Regions from separate parts of the Homo sapiens genome. Here all the other regions are linked to region 2. The links are contacts of gene promoters, found by promoter capture Hi-C in blood cells and fetal thymus (Javierre and others, 2016). All regions are on one chromosome and are shown on one strand. Each heading gives the region's core, a stretch centred on a gene start or on the middle of the fragment in contact. The rest is flanking DNA. Distances are from core to core; before and after follow the strand shown.

The links. The method cuts DNA at HindIII sites, captures the fragments that hold promoters and counts their contacts. A CHiCAGO score of 5 or more calls a contact.
Region 1: a contact is called between a fragment that was not itself captured here and the fragment with the promoter of DIO2-AS1 in region 2, in 1 of 17 cell types (endothelial precursors). The highest score is 5.4, in endothelial precursors.
Region 3: a contact is called between a fragment that was not itself captured here and the fragment with the promoter of DIO2-AS1 in region 2, in 1 of 17 cell types (endothelial precursors). The highest score is 5.1, in endothelial precursors.

The regions. Positions count from the first base shown.
Region 1 is chr14:80,869,929-80,873,404 of GRCh38, reverse strand. The region is part of intron 8 of CEP128 (centrosomal protein 128); the gene reads left to right. Among named protein-coding and RNA genes, the nearest start is that of CEP128, 70 kb to the left of the region's middle. The HindIII fragment of the contact is 1,801 bases long and covers 942-2,742 here.
Region 2 is chr14:80,209,852-80,213,639 of GRCh38, reverse strand. It overlaps DIO2-AS1 (DIO2 antisense RNA 1), which reads right to left and starts at 2,221. Exons shown (of 9, transcript NR_038355.1): 1 at 2,152-2,221. DIO2 (iodothyronine deiodinase 2) reads left to right here and starts at 2,136. Exons shown (of 2, transcript NM_013989.5): 1 at 2,136-2,389. The coding sequence starts at 2,168. The HindIII fragment of the contact is 6,513 bases long and covers 852-3,788 here.
Region 3 is chr14:80,835,936-80,839,735 of GRCh38, reverse strand. It overlaps CEP128 (centrosomal protein 128), which reads left to right. Exons shown (of 25, transcript NM_152446.5): 11 at 1,458-1,532; 12 at 3,399-3,531. Among named protein-coding and RNA genes, the nearest start is that of CEP128, 100 kb to the left of the region's middle. The HindIII fragment of the contact is 6,066 bases long and covers 1-3,800 here.

The DNA of each region.
Region 1 (3,476 bases), core at 593-3,092, 660 kb before region 2:
AAAACTAGTAAGTATTATCTATATATAGTCTACAGTTTTACTTTGTATTTAAAATGTAGCCACTGAGTAAAAAGTTAGCAGTTAGCTGAATTCAGAGAGAGCTCAAACTCTTTCACATAATTATTGCCATGCATCAAGAATGACTCCATATCACATAAAGTGCAACTGGATGTCACTCCTCACTGGTGCCCAGCTCATTGGTGTAATTGCTGTATAAAACATGCTAGTTTACCCAGCTATCCCCTCTGCCCAGCTCATGAGGACACAGCCTTTTATATTGTCTAAACCCAGAAAATTGTGCCCACATAATTGTACACTCAGTTGAATTGTTCATGTGCCAGTTCCTTACATCAAGTTGTGATGTTACACCTTGTTTTGTGCTTTGTGTAATTTGCTGTCAAAGTAAGATTGTCTCATAATTGCACGAAGGGCATCTCAAATTTCTTATGGGTGTGTATAGTCCTGATTAAGAAAAAAATGTCCAAAGTGAAACTTAATAATAACATTGTTGGAATTAAGAAGGTCTTCTGAAGGCCACATGATGTTTGTTTCCAGGGCTTAATATAGACTTTGTGACTCATTCCAATTGAAGTCAACATTTATGTTTTATAACTGGTCGATGTATTGTGTTGTATTTGTGAATTCATAACCTGCTGTCAGAGAAGATGGTTTCATTATTTGAGTGTTAAGCTTCTCAGAGACTGCAGCTGTTTCCCCTGCTTCAGATTTAAGTTTAAAATAAAATTACCAAAATGATGCACCTTCACTGTGGCAAACTTAAATATTGTACATACATAAAGTGAAAATAAATGCTGCCCCTATTTCTTGCCAATTTCACTTTCTACTGGTAAGCCCTCTTAATCACGTTTATTGTGTATTATTCTGAGGCTACAGTTGTTTATCATGCATTTTCTCAGTGACTAAAATATATCTTGAAAGCTTATGGAACACATTTTTCTTTGAGAGACAAAAAGTTGTGGTTGCTGTCATATATGTCAGTATTTGATGTGTTAATCTTTTGTGAATCATAAATATTTTTTGCTAATGTCAAATTGTCCATTGGAAGGGAAGAGTTATTGTTTATAGTATGATGTCATGGAAAATATTTTCTATTAACACTTAATTGTGGTGATACGCAATCAATATTGCATAGGCCTTATACCATATGGGAAATTTCAGTTTATTAGTTGTCTAGATTTTATTGAGCTGAGTGTGATATGACTGCATGTTATTTGATTATTTTTGGAGGAAAAAGTCAATTCTATTTTAGTTTTCTATAGGAGGATCACTATTAAAAATAAAAATGTAAACATGGATCCAGCTGTTTCTGGAAGGGTTGACCATTAATAGAGTTTATAAGAATTCTGTCAATACTGCATTTAGAATAACAGGATTATTGCATAGATCACAGCAGCAGGATATATAACATATTTATTTAAGTGGACTTTGAAGCACCAGGTATTGTTAAAGATCTGAGGAATCAACATATTGAAAAGCGAGAATACCATCTTTTAAACAGAATGCTTTTTCTTTTGTTTGACCTTTCATTAAATACTAATCTTAAAAGCCATTCTAATTTTTATTCTTGTTATTTTGCTATTTTTATAACCAAATATGGAGATTTAGGAATTTTTGGTATTCTAGTCTTAAACTTAGTTGATAATGGTATTCTGGTAAATATGAATTTTTTAGTATTGGATTACATTTCTAATATTTTTCCCTTAGGTCTCAGAGAAAGAAAAAATAAAGAAGTTCTAAAATATACTTTCTTTAAAATAATTCTTATTATTAGGAATTATGTCATCACTCAAAAGCTATAAATATATGTCTTTAGGTTAAGGTCCACAACCTTCATTTAGGGTTGTTTTTACTTACTTTGGTCTTCACTGTCTCAGGAAATGGCATCATATTCCATCCAGCACGTTAAGCTGGTCACCAAGGATTCATCTAGATCCATTTCTTTACACCATACTTCCAATCCATTACAAAATCCTGTCCCTTTAATTTCTGAAATCTTGCTCAATTCCATCTACTTCTAATACTACTTTTCAAGCTACCATCTCTTCTCAGTGGGTTTACTGCAGTGGCATCCAATGAAGTTGGTCCCTCTGCTCCCATACCTGCCTTTATCTGTGCTTCTCACTGCAGGCAAATTATTTTTTTAAATTGTCATTATGTTTAATTATTCCTCCAGGTTTAAAAATCCTACCTGGGTTTCTTTCGTTCCAAATTCTTTACCATGGTCTATAGTGCCTACGTTATGTGGCTTTCTCTGTATATCTTGATTTTTTTTTCCACTGGCTATTTTCTTTTACCAAGATTTTACATTGCTGACTTCCTCTTTCTTTAATTTTTTTTATTTTCAGAGTACAAATCTTTCATCACCTTAGGTAAATTTATTTCTTCGTATTTTTTGGGTGCTATAGTGAACAGGACTTTTTTTTTTTGAGTTGTTATGTATAGAAATGCTGCTGATTCTTGTATGTTTAATTTTGATTTCTGCAACTTTACTGAATTTGTTTATTACTTCTAACAGTTTTTTTTAGGGGCCTCTTTAGGGCTTTCTGTATATAAGATCATGTCATCTGAAAACAGGGACAATTTGACTTCTTCCTTCCTCATCTAGATGCCTTTTATTTCTTTTTCTTGCATACTTGCTTTGGCCAGGACCTTCAGTACTACGTTGAATGGAAGTGTTCATACTGGGCATCCGTGGCTTTTTCTGATCTTAGGGAAAAAGCTTTTAGATTTTTACTGTTGAGTACTATGTTAGCTGTTGGCTTGTTGTATATGGCCTTTATTATGCTAAAATAAACTCATTCTATGTCTAATTTATTGGAAGTTTCTCTTTTTATCATGAAAGGATGTTGAATTATATTAAATGCTTTTTCTGCATCTATGGAGAAGACCATATGATTTTTATTCTTTATTCTGTTAATATGGTATGTTACACTTATTGATTTGCAGCTTTGTATTCTGGGGATAAATACTAAGTGATCATGGTGTAATGATTGGTGTAATGATTCTTTTAATGTGCTACTGAATTTGGTTTGCTAGTATTTTGCAGAGGATTTTTACATCTGTGTTCATCGGGGATATTGGCTTGTAATTATCTTTTTTAGTAGTGTCTTTGGTCTCATGGTACTGCTGGCCTCATAGGATGAGGTTGGACATGTTCTCTTATCTTCAGTTTTTTGGAAGAGCTTGAGAAGGATTGGCATTAGCTTTTCTTTACATGTTTGGTAGATTTTACCTGTGAAGTAATCAGGTTCTGGGCTTTTCTTTGTTGGGAGGTCTTTGATTACTGATTCAATCACCTTACTCATTATTGGTTTGTTTGGATTTTCTGTTTCTTTGTGACTCAGTCTTGGTAAGTTGTAGGTTTTTAGGAATTTACCCATTTCTCCTAGGTTATCCAATTTGTTGGCATAAAATTGTTCATAGTATTTTCTTATAAGACTTTGTATTTTTGTGGT
Region 2 (3,788 bases), core at 972-3,471:
TGCGCCAAGCATGGTTCTAGGTGTTGGGGAGGTAGCAGTGAACAAAGTGGACAAGAATCCCTGCTCTCACGGAACCTAAAGGCATTCTTTTTTGATTATTGTTTTTTTAAAGGCAAAAAAGCAACCTGCCAACCAAACAAAATGCATTAATATGCAGAATTCAGCTAACAGGACGACAAATTAATGACTCTTGTCTAGGCTTTTAAATTATTTCTGTGATCATGAAGGTTTTAGCCACATGGAAAAAATACGCAATACGCTAACCACAAGCTTGCACCTACTGCTTAGCTTATGCCTAAGCTCTGGCTACATAGAAAACTCAGCTATCTATTACCCAGTATCTAAAACTCAGTATCTATCACTGAGAAAACTCAGTGATCTATTAGGTAACACAGGATGAAAAAGTAGAATAAAGTGGGGGTCATGCCATTCTGCCAAAGCATTGTCTGCCTAAATACCTGTCCTAAAGACTCATGGGAGAGGCAAGCCAATGAACAATGGTCAATGTGGCACCTTGAACCAATTCAGTCGGCTCTTAACTTCCCATACATTTAATTAAAATTTTTTTCAAACAAAAAGGAAGATTCCTTAAAGTATCAGGTCTCTTAGGGGTTATGCTAACAGAAGCAGGTGAAACACCAAATTTAAAGAGCTTTCATTAATAATTTCTCAGCCTTATGGCTTCTTAATGCTATTCAATGGAAAGTTTTAATTTTATCTGCAAAATGAAGCTAAAAGAATGTCGCCTAGCTCCTTCCCTGTCTGGAGGAACTTGGATTTTTTTTTTTTTTTTCATTAGAAGCTTGGGTAAAACTAAAAAGAAACCTGTATTCAAGTTTCTGCAAGAAGCTTTAAAGAAATGCTGGGATGGTACTCAAATAGTTTACAAGTTTTCCACCTACAACTCATTTTGCATTTTCTTAAATAAGATAATGACTCAAAAAAATTTAAAGGACCTAGGTCACAGATCTTACAAAGGGTTGGAGTCATGGTATAAAGGTATAAAGATTGTATATAAATGTTCATATTTTCCAAGAAACAGAGCAAAGACCGCCTGTGATAACTCTTCCTTTTTTCTACCTGCCTTCCAGGATCCTTTCTTTCCAAAACCCCTCATAAATTAATGATAATGATAATCAGAAGAGAGAGTGTTGGCCATATCAATCTGCACATTATATTAAATTACTTTTCCCAAAGTTTGGAAGCATTTCCTGAAGGCTGTCAAGGGTATTAGTTTTTTTCTCTCTTTAAATCACAAAGCAAAATTCCACTGTCTCTCCCCAACCCCTTCTAAAAAAAAAAAGTTGTCGAGTTTTGCTTTTCTATTCACTGCAATCCTGGCCAAAGTAAAGCCCTCTTTCTCAATGACGTCAAGATCTTTACCAAGATTAGGCTTTCACTTCTCTATTGCAGCAATTAGCCAGGGAATGTATAAAAGGCGTCAGGGAGACTCACTGGGCTGCAGAGAGAGGCACTTTGCACCACAGACAGATAGCAAGAAGGGAAAGACAGAGAGTGAGAAAAAAGAGGAGTCAGTCGCTCCTGGGGAAGGGAGAGAGTGAGACTGGGAGAAAGAGAAGCACAGAAAGTGTGTGTAAAACGGAGTAAAGAAAGAAAAAAAAAAAACTACCCTTAAAGCACATTTAAAAAAAAAAAAAACTCTGGCAATTCAAGAAAGAAACAGGCTACGTTTAAAGAGCATAGAGACAATGAAAGGCTAAAGAAAATTTTAAAATCTCTGCCACAGTCTCATAGGTGCTTGGAAATGAAAGTAGAACTGCCTGTCTTTAACGGACTCTGACAGAGGTAACTGGATTAGGGACGAGTACGCCAGCTTTTTTTTTTTTTTTTTTTTTTTTTTTTTAACATCTTAAATCCTGAAAAAAAAAAAAAAAAAAAAAAAAAGGCAGCAGCTCCGAATTGAATGAATTGATGGGCACACTCCAACTGCTGGGCTGGAGAGACTGGACTTAGTCTTGCCATTTCTGCTTCTTTGAAAGAGGAGACAACTTGGGCTTCCTTTTAATTTAGTTTTTTTTCCCCTTCTCCCCCAACCCCCAACCTTCCCCCTTACCTCCCCCACCCCCTTTATCACCACCCCCCTTTTAAATAAGAGGGTGAAGGGGAACCAGAGCGCACAAGGGAACTGACTCAGGAGGCAGAGAAGATGGGCATCCTCAGCGTAGACTTGCTGATCACACTGCAAATTCTGCCAGTTTTTTTCTCCAACTGCCTCTTCCTGGCTCTCTATGACTCGGTCATTCTGCTCAAGCACGTGGTGCTGCTGTTGAGCCGCTCCAAGTCCACTCGCGGAGAGTGGCGGCGCATGCTGACCTCAGAGGGACTGCGCTGCGTCTGGAAGAGCTTCCTCCTCGATGCCTACAAACAGGTGAGCTGAGCTGAGAAGGGCTTCTCCCTAGGTCTACAGGGGCAGGGGCTCATATGCTGGGGACCAGAGGCCATTGGGAGCATTGGGGGGAGAGCTGTGAAGCCCTATTTGTGGGGTTGCCAAGTGAGCCTCTAAGTTTACTTTCCACACCTGTTGCACAGGTTAGCTTGGGAGGGTGACAGCTATTAAGCCATAATGACTCTGTGTGACCTAATAAGGAATCTTTCTACTAAGGGTTATTAATATCTTGCTGTGATTTGGGAGTAGAAGGCATTGTGCTGGTACGATAACTTGGGAAAAGTCAGAAAATGATGGAGAAGAGGAGACTGCTGCATTTATTCTGCTCTTGCCATAAACTGGAATTTTGATTTTTTGCTTGATGGGAGGCTGAGGTACACTGAGGAAGTATGTTCGAGGGGTGGGTACTGAAAAGCAAGAAATGAGAAATGCTACTCAGAACTCTCAGAGAGTTGACAAGATAAGAAAGTGGTCATAGAAATTGTGATTGGGCATCATAGCTGCTTGGTTTCTGGTAGAGGTAAGAGTTAATGAAAGCAAGCAGCTGTGTGCCACCTCCTCTACATTGATTCAAATTTGAACCCTTTGGAAGCGATTTTCAGGCAGTGATCCTGAGTTACTAGATATCAACTTGCGAAAGAAAAGTCTGAAAACTAGCTGTCAGAAATCCAGCATTTGTAAGGGAAGCCTCCTTTACTTTGTTTCTCAAAAATAAAATACGTTGCCCTAGAAAGAGATGATGGGTCTGTGATTCATTAAATCTCAGAGCTGTTATGAGCATTAGAGCAGTGGTCTCCCTTACCTGCTCAGGTAGTGCCCAGGGGCTGCTCTCTCAAAATCAGAGGTAGTGATCTTAGTTTCTAAGTGAAAAATACTGTGTTCCAGGCTTTTTGCTGGTGAGAGATGTTAGTAGAGCATTTTCAACTAAGATCTTCAGGGGCACAGAGGATGATTTTCGCCCTGGTCTTTTGTCAGTTTTCCCCCACCTGCTATGCCCATATGACTTCTAAAGGTCCCCTCCACCCCCTCAACCAGGCTTGAGAAGAATGAACTATTTTGGCAAAAGTAGTTATCAAAATAGACAATCTTGGTTTCCCTAAAAGTGTTGTGGGACCTTGCCCAAGATGCCAGAAAAAGCAACTGTACATCTGTATTTTAGAGGAATATAGAAGCCAGGTGTTCAGTGAAGTGGTGTGTTTTAGGCAGGCAGCACCTTAGAACCAGAGACGGGGAACTCGAAATAATAGAGACGCAAGGGAATGCATCCTCCATAAATAAACACTAGAAAACTAAAACCATGCGCCAAGAAAAGAGAAGAAGTAACTTGTAAAATTACAAAGAATTCAGGACAGGATTGTTCTTCTGAAAATCAGATGTTCAA
Region 3 (3,800 bases), core at 191-2,690, 630 kb before region 2:
TATTGGGATTTAAAGATATATTTTGAAATAATTATAGATTTATAGGATATTGTAAAACAAGATGCACAGAGAGGTCCCATGCACCCAATTTGCCTCAATGGTAACATTTTGCATAATTGCCATTCAATATCAAAACCAGGAAATTGGTGTTGGTACAATCTACTTAGTTTATACAGATTTCACCAGCTTTATATATATAACTCATTTGTATTTGTGTGTGTGTGTGTGTGTTTGTGTGAAGTTCAGTCCATTTTTATCTTGTATAGATTCTTGTTACCACTACCACCGTCAGGATACAGAACTGTTCTATCACCACAAGGCTCCCTCATGTTCTTTCATAGGCACACCTACCACATGTACAGTTATTAAATGATTAATATACAGATAGCAGTTGTTCAACTGAAATGATAATTTAGGATAAGTGTTACAAATCTAAGCACTTACAAGCATCTTAATATAAATGTGTGATTTTTATAAAACTATCTTACTGTTACAGAATGCAAACAAGTCTAGCACATATAAGCTCTAAATTGTTAAGAAACTTGTGTTCTATCCTATTACATATTTCAACTTGAAATCATCTAGGCATGTTAGGAGTTTGTAGAATATTTAGTCACTTAACTGGTCACATTTTTTTGAGACGGAGTCTCGCTCTGTTGCCCAGGCTGGAGTGCAGTGGCGCGATTTCGGCTCACTGCAAGCTCTGCCTCCCAGGTTCACGCCATTCTTCTGCCTCAGCCTCCCGAGTAGCTGGGATTACGGGTGTCTGCCACCATGCCTGACTAATTTTTTGTATTTTTAGTAGAGATGGGGTTTCACCGTGTTAGCCAGGATGGTCTTGATCTCCTGAACTGGTCACATTTTTTATCGATATTTATCTAATGGCAGTATCATTAAGGAAATTTTAAATGTCTCATTCTGAATTTAGACATCTAAAAATTTAAGGAATGTCTTATAAATATTAGAAATATTAGGAATGTAGGAAATCACCAATTAGATGAAACTTTTGAGTTATTGGGTCCCTGCAGTTTTTATTCTACTTTAGTTAATTTGACACTGTGTATTCTAATTTAAAGAAAAAAATTGCCTTAGAATTTAGATTAAAGAGATTTAGAACTGGAAGGGATCTTGGAGACTGTTTAATATAAAATACTTATTTTAGAGATGATAGAATGGAGGCCAGAGGAGGAGAGACTTGGACTGGCTCACAGTTGAGATGAAACTTACTAGATCCCAGACTTCCTGAGGCCTGGTCTGGTTCACTTTATGTTATACGATTCACATTATTTTAATGGAAGTATTGATATATGTTCATAGTGAGATATTTATTCTTTTATATTAGCTGTAAATGTCTTCTGAAAACTTTTCCACTTTTCTCCTTTTAAACTGTGCCCATAATAATTTAGTTATCTTCTGCTCCATTGGGCATTTTTCTTTATCCTTTGTTGAAACTCTAGCTTGAACAGGAATTGGAGCTATCTCGAAGGTTATTGAATCAATCAGAAGGCAGCCGAGAAACACTTTTGCATCAGGTAAGTCTATGCAAGTTATTATAATATACTTTTACATTAAATCAGGATTGAGTAGCTCTATTTAAATGTCTTTGTGAAAGGAAAAAAAAGAACTAGGTCTAGAAAAAATGTTTTCCTAAGGAATGTATATTAGCACACCTAAGCAAAGGATAAAATTCTTTCAGGGAAATTCAGAGAAAGCTAGTACAAACACCAGCCAGAGTCCCCACTGTGATGGTGTATCTTGCTGATTGCTGCTACAACTTACTACTTATCTGTCTTAGCATGAGCAGTGTAAAAGTAAGACTGAATGTATAAGATAAAATTTTCCCAGGAGCTTAATTTTATTCCAGGAGGCACTGGGAAGTAAAGGAAGAAGTAAACTACATGCAGCAGACCTTTGCATGTTTAGGTTACTTTGAATAACGTCATTGTCTTTAATTCATGTTTTCAAGATACTACTTGACCCTTTTAAACCAAAGATAAGGGTAATTTTATTTTATTTTTTTTGAGACGCAGTCTCGCTCTGTTGCCAGGCTGGAGTGCAGTGGCGCAATCTTGGCTCACCACAACCTCAGCCTCCCGGGTTCAAGCGATTCTCCTGCCTCAGCCTCCCAGTAGCTGGGATTACAGGCATGCGCCACCACACCTGGCTAATGTTTTGTTTTTTTAGGAAAGATGGGGTTTCACCATGTTGGCCAGGATGTTCTCGATCTCCTGACTTCGTGATTCCCCACCTCGGCCTCCCAAAGTGCTGGGATTATAGGTGTGAGCCACCACGCCCGGCCGATAAGGCTTAATTTTAAAGTATAACGTTTTGCATTCCATCAGCCCATAATGGGAGTTTGGCGCTTCTGATGTTTAAAGTTCAGTAACTTTAAATAACCATCTTACATACATTGGATAAGGGCATATGGGTTTCTAACTGCCTGTCTGTGTTTAATACAAACTGCAATTATACTTTCTTCTGTTTTGAAGTGTATGTTATATAACACACCTTCAGAATATGCTAAGGGTAAGCAAAGATGTCAAGCATTATAGATGTTCAGAAGGAGTATTACATTCTGACAATTGGTGCTGAAAATACAAGATAGCACCTGTTTTACAAAACCTTTGAAAATATTCGCTGACTTTGTTCTGCAGCCAGTGGTCACATGGAATTAATTTTGGCAGAGTTCAAACTTTCCTTTTTGGAAGTTTATATTTGTATTTAATTCCGTTCTGATTTGTTTGGAACTCTAACTTATAATCTCCAGTTTCAGTTATGGAAGCAAGAGATTTCTTTGTTTAGATTGTCATTGTGATTTTAGCTGAATCTTTTTGCCACTGTTAACTTGTTTAATGTTCATTTGGAAGTACCTGCTATGTGCTAGGTAATTTGGCAGTCTAAGGATAGAAAGATAAACAAATCAGTTTCTGACTTCAAGGAGTTTAGAGTTTATTCAACAGCATCTATTACATACTTATTTTGAGCATGATTTTAGTATCAAAATATGCTAAATCATGATCATTTATCTTGAATTTAACAACCAATAGACCATGTTCACATGAAAGCAAATGGGTGAAAATTGAAAAATATAAGAAGTATAATACTTAATTGAAGTTGATTTGGGTTAATAGTAATGGAGTAGACTGAGGACAAAATAAGTGATGAAAAAAAAAATCTAGTCACATTCCATTCTTTGCCTCAGTGGACACAGAGAAGGAAAAGCCATTCATTTATTCTTTGTGGAAGAGATGAGAGGAATGAGGAAATGGAGCAGGAAACCGTTCCACTATGCTTGGAAGGAGATTAACCTGGATTCAACTTGTGTTTACAATAGCCCATTTGAAGTAGGTCTTTCTCTGATTGTGAAAACCGATGTTTGATTTTTGACCATGTGTTAGGTAGAAGAACTGCGTACACAACTTACGAAAGCAGAAGGTGATCGAAAGGGTTTACAGCATCAAGTATCTCAGATTTCCAAGCAACAGTCAAACTATCAGGATGAACAAGGGGAGGACTGGAGATTTAGGAGAGGTAAAAGTAGATTTGTACCTAATAATGTGATAATGTGTGTGGGGGCTTTTTGGTTTTTCTTAGAAAATACTTTTCATCCTCAGAATTGCATTCCTTTGTGATGCTCACGTCATACTATTTCTTGATCTATTAAACATTTTCTGATAAGTTGATAATAATTCAGCATCATCCCATTTTAATATCTTCCCTGCTTGGTTCAAACCCATTTGGGTTATTAGACCTACTTAACCATGGGGCTTTCTCTTAGAAAGAGCCTGCAAAAGCAGTAG